Regions from separate parts of the Homo sapiens genome. Here region 2 is linked to region 1. Evidence: promoter capture Hi-C in human tissues and cell types (Jung and others, 2019). All regions are on one chromosome and are shown on one strand. The core of a region is centred on a gene start or on the middle of the fragment in contact, and the rest is flanking DNA. Distances in the headings are between cores, read along the strand shown. Region 1 holds the start of MARK3 (microtubule affinity regulating kinase 3). Region 2 overlaps LBHD2 (LBH domain containing 2).

Region 1 (3,475 bases), core at 522-3,021:
CACAACATCTCAGGACATTACTGAAAGCATGAAAACACTCAAAGCAAGGAAGCATTCCCTAAGAGAAGACATTTCGTGCCAGCAATTACCTCATAACACTTTTAATGAAAGGCCAGTGAAGTTTCTTTACAAATTATTTACTAGATGTTTTACAGAATATAGTCAACAACTAGATTGAAACACTTTTGAACCCAGTGTTAGAGGAGAACAGAGTTAGAAAACGAACAGAGTCAAACGTTTCTTCAATGGAATTTCTACTACAAGTTCTCATTCTCTAGCAATGCTGTTCCTGGCATTTTGTAGTTTCACATGAACAAAATCAAAGGTTCCTTTTATAAAACCATAGCCTGTGAGCGCTGAAAGGGACCTAAGAGCTCATCTAAGCCAATCTCTTTTTAGGAAGGAGGACAGCGAAGCCCCCAGCGGGTGTCCCTCAGCTAGGCAGTGAGTGGCAGAGCAGAGCTTCACTATACATCTGCTTTTCAAAATGTTTAACCAACTCCTTCAAAAAAGATTTGTATGGAAAGGAAACTGCCTTAATAAAGGCTGCGCGCTAGTGTTTTGGAATTCCTAAGGGGACCGCAAAGATCCCTCAGTGGACACTTAGTGACTGTGATTAAATTTAGTTCCAGACCATCTTAAAGAACGAGACCGCCCACTTGACCCAATCGATTACTCTTAATCAGCACCGGTAACATATGTTATTAATGTGACAGTCTCTCAAGAACTGCCTGACCAAGTTAAAAGCAGAGTTCGGCTAAAATAAGCACTGACCACTGCAGTGATCTGACACACACGTTTGCACAATCCATTGCGCGGCAACCTGGCCTCTCAAAGCACCGATCCGTAACGCTGCAACTCCTGGGCTTTATTAACCGACTAGACTGCCGGCATAATCGATGTACTTCGCAGACCCGCCCGCGAACAGCGGGACACGGCAGACTTCTGGAGGAAACGGTCCGACCTGGCTGCCTCCTGGGTGACTACGGCCTGCCCTCTATTTCCAGAGCGTTCGGCTGGGGGGAACACCCGACTGCAAGGCACTGCCCGAGGAGCACGAATGCCACCCCGAAGGTCCGCCAACTACAACGCCCAGGTTACTTACGTTTTCAGTGTCTCGTTCATTCACCGTTGGCAATGGGGTCCTAGTGGACATTTTACTGCACTTTAATTCTGCACAATGCGAGGGTCAAAACAAAACAGCACAGCCCTAGGAGGCCGGCGACCAGCGTCCTCGAGTCCACGGCAGTTCCGAAAAGGCGCCGTGGGGAGGGCGGCTCCCTTCCCCCTACGGCCGTCTAGATCCCGGGCCTGGCCCGGGCCGTCCCCCGGCGGGTCCCGGGGCTCATTCTCTCCCTGCCTCGGCGGCCGAGGCGAGGAGACCGGGAGGGCGGCAGTGGCGGAGCCGAGCCTGCGGGCGGCGGGCTGCGCTTCGGCCCGCCGGCGTCCCCTTGCCTCAGGGCGCCCCGCGATCCTGGGCCCCCTCACCTCCTTCTCCACTCCCTCCCGTCGCACCGCGAATTTCAGCTCGCGGGCCTCCACACAGCGCCGCCGGCGGCGCCTGAAAACGAGGAGGCGGAGGAGGATGTGAAGGAAGTGGAGCGCAAGACAGGCCGCCGCGGGCTGTGGGCGCCGACCATGGAGCGGGCTGCGGAGGAGGCGCCTGCGCCCGACTGCTTCTCCCTCTCTAGCGAGCTTGCTGCCTCAGCCTCCGCCCTGCTGGCCGCCGCTGCCGCCGCCGCACCCCGGCACCTCAGAGCCTCACGGAGCCAAGATGGCCGCCCCTCGGCTTCCTCTGCTGCCTCCGGCTGCCGGAAGTGACGACAGGCCGCCACCCGGAGTCCCGCCAATCAGCATGGCCTGAGAAAGCCGGCCCGGCTGTTGTTGCTAGGGGCGACTTGGTCCAGACCTCGCCGCGGGGGCGGTGCAGAGGGCTGGATAGTGCTGGTCGGGTCTCCGCTGACTCCCGCGGGCTGCGGGTTCCTCCTGTCCCGAGCGCGCCGGCAACCGCGAAAGAGCCGAGAAACGGCTCTGGGCGACAGCCAGAGCCCTCCCGCTGAGTTGGCATTTACACACTACAGGCCTGGGTTGGCTGGATTACAGATCGAGAGCCTATTGTGCGCAAAAGTTGCGGTTGCATCCCTGGGACTGCGCTGCACCGAATGGAGCCCCAGCATTAATTAATGACAGGGCCGGGGCTACGGGAAGGCGCCGGGCTCTTGCATCCTTAACTGTGACCCGGGAGTCAGGTTCTCGCCAACAAACCTTCCCGTCTCCGGATCTGAGCAGCTGCGGGCTGGGCGCGGACCCTGAGGGCAGCAGGCGCCTCTTGCCCTCAAGGAGCTGGTGGTCAGACGGGTGACAGACCCGGACCCAGCTAAATGCCATCCGGATGGAAGAGTGCAATAACGAGGGTGGCACAAAGGGGATGGGTTTGGGGGCGAAATGAATCTGTAGAGGACCCCAGGGACCAGCTTCCAAATGCCTGTAGGGGGTTTATAAGCAGGCTTTTCTTACAGTCAGTGCGTTGCTGCTGGAAGACTGGAAGCATCTCTGGGTGCCAGCCTCGGGCCAGGCTCGGTAGATGCCTGCAGGCTGGAACACTGGAAATGCTACCTGACCTGGAAGCCTTCCTTGCCCATTCACCTCTTCACGTGCTCGGTGCCTCTACTCAGCTCCTGGCCAGCGGTGGATGGAATCCATGGGTGCAGGGTCCGAAGAGGGAGAGTAGTGTGAGATGGGGGTGACACGAACTGTTACCGAGAGTCGAGTCTACCTTGTGGGTTCATGACATTTGTTACCTCATTTAGCCTCAGGGTAACCCTATGAGATGGGCAGACACACATGCGATCCGAAGTCTAGACAGGTACAGTGACTTGGCTAAAGTACACAGGTTGGTTAGCGACAGAGCTGGGATTCTAACCTAGCTCCCAAAGCTTGGATAATAGGTAAGCCCTTGTAGTGGGGGGCTATGTCATGCTTGCTTTCCCTTTGGTCCGTTGGCATCCCAACTCTCTTGCTATGTTTGAGACATTTCTTGCTCCACGAAATATATGTTTGTTGTTGTTGTTGTTGTTGTTGTTGTTTTGGGACGGAGTTTCGCTCTGTCGCCCAGGCTGGAGTGCAGTGGCGCGATCTCCACTCACTGCAAGCTCCACCTCCCGGGTTCACGCCATTCTCCTGCCTCAGCCTCCCGAGTAGCTGGGACTGCAGGTGCCCACCACCATGCCTGGCTAATTTTTTTTGTATTTTTAGTAGAGATGCGGTTTCACCGTCTTAGCCAGGATGGTCTCGATCTCCTGACCTTGTGATCTGCCCGTCTCGGCCTCCCAAAGTGCTGGGATTACAGGCGTGAGCCACTGCGCTCGGCCAAATATATGTATCTTTAAACGCCAGATTCACTCCCAGAGAGGCCAGAGGCTCCCAATGTTAAAACACCTGAGGACTAAGGTAACACTCAGGGCTCCCATCTAAC
Region 2 (3,125 bases), core at 538-3,037, 300 kb after region 1:
AAAGGGGCAGTGTCTCCTGCCTCCCTCCTCTCATGGGCCCCTGGCACACCTGCCCGGGCCACAGAAAGGCCATGGACTTGGCACAGCTGACATTTATGGAGTGTACCACTGCCCGGCCCTAAGCTTCCTCATCCTGGCCCAGGCTGGCCAAGGGCAGAGGGCCAGGTTGGGGGGACACACCTGGGGAGGGGGCCCTGGGTTACACTCGGGGCTCTGCCCCCATGCCAGCTGCAACCAGGCAGCAGGGCTCCCCTCCTGTAGTAGAACAGAGTCCAGAGACAATGTCGATGGACCCAGTGGAGGGACAGGACCCCCACATGGGGCAGGAAGAGATGCCTGCTCCACCAGCCTCTGATGCAGGTTCTGTGGCAGCCCAGTGGCTTCCTGACCTCAGGAATTCCCTCCGTAGCCGCTTGCCTTGAGCACCTCGCTTTGCACCTCAGTTCCTACACGTGTAAAATGGGACCTTCACGAAGATTTAACGAGATCCAACCTGGAATGGGGCGGCCCACCCCAGGCACCATCGCTGTGCTTTCCTACACCCGGGGCAAGTGGGTAGCAGGCCCTCAGGGTCCGGCCCTGGCCCCAAGAAGGCCCCACGGAGGGTTGGGAGGCCACCTGGAGGAGGCTGGTTCTGCCCTGGACAGCCTTGGCCAAAGCAGAGAGAGGGTCCCTGGGCAGAGGCACCAGCCACAGAGCCAGCTCAGCCCTGCCCAGCCTGCCCCAGTGCCAGGCCCAAGTGGTCACCCAAGAGGCGCTCTGGACTGGCCAGCCTGGGCTGGGAGCTGAGGCCCTCACCTGGAAGGCCACAGGCAGAGCCCAAACTGTCCTCAGTCCCTTGCATCCCCATCAAGTGTGCCTACTGGCCACCAGGAAGTGCCTTTATTTCTGCTTCAAACCACGGAACAAAGCGGGGTGTGATCCAGACCTGGGCCATGGGCAGAAGAGGGCAGGGCTGCGGTCCAGACCCTGTGACACAGGAAGCAGCCTCTGGGCTTTCCAGGCTGGGCAGGCCCGGCCCTCCTGTGCATCAGCCCGGCCACCCTGGGGCAGAGGCCCTCAGCAGTCAGACAGCAGAGCCCAGCCACGTCCTTGTCCTATCCCCGGGCCGGGGCTGCTGGGTCCTCGGAGCAGGCACACTCGCTGCCAGCGTTATCTGCAGCTTTCCCTGGTTCTCCGGGCAGACTCGGCGAGGGGGCTGCAGAAACATAAAGGCGGCCGTGTTGGTCGGCGGGGGGAGTGCAGCCTGAGAGGATCCCAGGGGCCCGAAATGAGCGTTTGGCAGGCAACTGGGCTGGGGCAGGCCAGGAGGTCCCCTCGGGTGATGAGAAGCGGGAGGGGTGCTCGGCCAGGGAGGCAGAATGAGGCTGGGCTCTGCGAGCAGGGGCAGCTCCCACATCCACCAGATGATGGGGTGGCAGAGGGAAGGGAAGTCCAGGGCAGACTCAAGGATATCCCCAGAGCCCAAGTCCCAGGGGTTACCCGAGTGGTGGTCCCTGATGCTGTCCTGGGCCCTGGGCAGAAACTGACAAGAGGCTTTGGGCAGAGGTGGGGGTTATGGGTCCAGACAGATAACCCCTCTGGCCACAATGAAAAGGGGGTTTTCTGGCCAGTACAGGCTGAGGTCTGGGGATGGGAAGAGGGCAGGCAAGGTGCTGAGCGGCCCCAGCTGCGGCTGAATTCACTTCCTCCTCAGGGAATAGACTCCCAGGGGTCTCCAGGGGACAACATCTCCCAGGGCACAGGGCACACCTCATGCCCCTTGCCCAGCCCCCAGTGGCCCTCAGAGCCATTCACAAGGCCCCCACAGCCCAGCCTGCTGCCTCTCCTGTTCCTTGGGCCTGGCGCCGGCTGCCCCCTCCTGCTCACACAATCCTCCCAGAAGTTTCAGCTTTTATTTTGAGATGGAGTCTCACTCTATCGCCCAGGCTGGAGTGCAGTGGCACGATCTCAGCTCACTGCAACCTCTGCCTCCAGGGTTCAAGCGATTCTCCTGCCTCAGCCTTCAGAGTAGCTGGGATTACAGGCGCCCGCCACCATGCCTGGCTAATTTTTGTATTTTTAGTAGAGATGGGGTTTCACCATGTTGGCCAGGCTAGTCTCGAACTCCTGACCTCAACTGATCCACCTGCCTCAGCCTCCCAAAGTGCTGGGATTATAGGCATGAGCCACCGCGCCTGGCCTGCTTTCAGCCTTTAAACAGGGCACCTGCAGCGGGATGGAGCCTGCCAACAGGCCAGCCCATCCCCCCACCACAAGCACCTGTAGGCTCACAGCCTCCCAGGCCCTAGTGAGCAAGGCACACTTGCTCCAGAGGTGATGACGAGGGTGCACTGGATAAGGAGGGGCGAGAATGTGGCATCACTCATTCAACAATTATGCACCGTGCACCTCCCGTGCCCAGGCCTGCGGCTGAGAGTGGATGAGGGACCTCATTTGCAGGTGGGAGGGAGGACGGTGCTAGGGAGGGGGGTTAAGGCCAGGCAGCACCTAGAGTCTCAGGCAGAGACTCCAAGGCGGGCGGAGGATGGAGTGTGAACAGGCAGGAGGCGGGAAGGCCTTGCTTGCTGGAGCCGCAGGAAGCACGCCCCGCTTCTGACCCTGGCAGTGGCCACTTCCTCCTCTCAGCACCCCCACAGGCACCCTCACTTACCAGCAGCAGCCCGGCTCTGAGAGGGGCCCCTCTGGGCACTCTCCAGGGGCCAGCGCAGCTCCCCACTTTCCACAGGGTCCGCCTCGCTGGGCTCCACCACGATTGAGGGCAGCCGCTGGCCCAGCCGAGGGCCCTTCTCCCAGGCACCTGCCACAGCCTGCAAGGAGGATGGGCAGGATCATGGCCATGCCAGGCCTGGCACTCCTATTCCCCCCTACCCCTGTCCTGCACACTGCCCCACTAGGGAGATCAGAGACCCTTCCCACCCAGTCCCCAGGGCAGGGATGGGCACATGTGTATTCACACAGGAACATCCCTGAGACAGGTCCCAGGCCCTACCCAGTCCCAACCCTGGGGGTAGGGTGCTCAGCCCCTGGGGTCACAGCTCTCAGGAGGCACCATAGGACGCAGCTGTGCTCAGCTCCAGAAGCCCATTGCACAGCCAGAGCCTGAGGCCGGAGAGGCCAAGGTC

What was found. Contacts are between HindIII fragments. The study calls those that stand out against the background at their distance.
Region 2: a fragment that was not itself captured here is called in contact with the fragment with the promoter of MARK3 in region 1 in 1 of the 25 tissues and cell types used here (small bowel).

What each region holds. Positions count from the first base shown.
Region 1 is chr14:103,383,711-103,387,185 of GRCh38, reverse strand. It overlaps MARK3 (microtubule affinity regulating kinase 3), which reads right to left and starts at 1,771. Exons shown (of 18, transcript NM_001128918.3): 1 at 1,106-1,771. The coding sequence starts at 1,156. RefSeq lists enhancers at 835-1,024, 965-1,954, 1,955-2,946 and a silencer at 1,305-1,494. The HindIII fragment of the contact is 8,681 bases long and covers 1-3,475 here.
Region 2 is chr14:103,087,770-103,090,894 of GRCh38, reverse strand. It overlaps LBHD2 (LBH domain containing 2), which reads right to left. Exons shown (of 4, transcript NM_001330236.2): 3 at 2,654-2,810; 4 at 868-1,198. The coding sequence ends at 1,098. Among named protein-coding and RNA genes, the nearest start is that of LBHD2, 5.1 kb to the right of the region's middle. The HindIII fragment of the contact is 8,591 bases long and covers 1-3,125 here.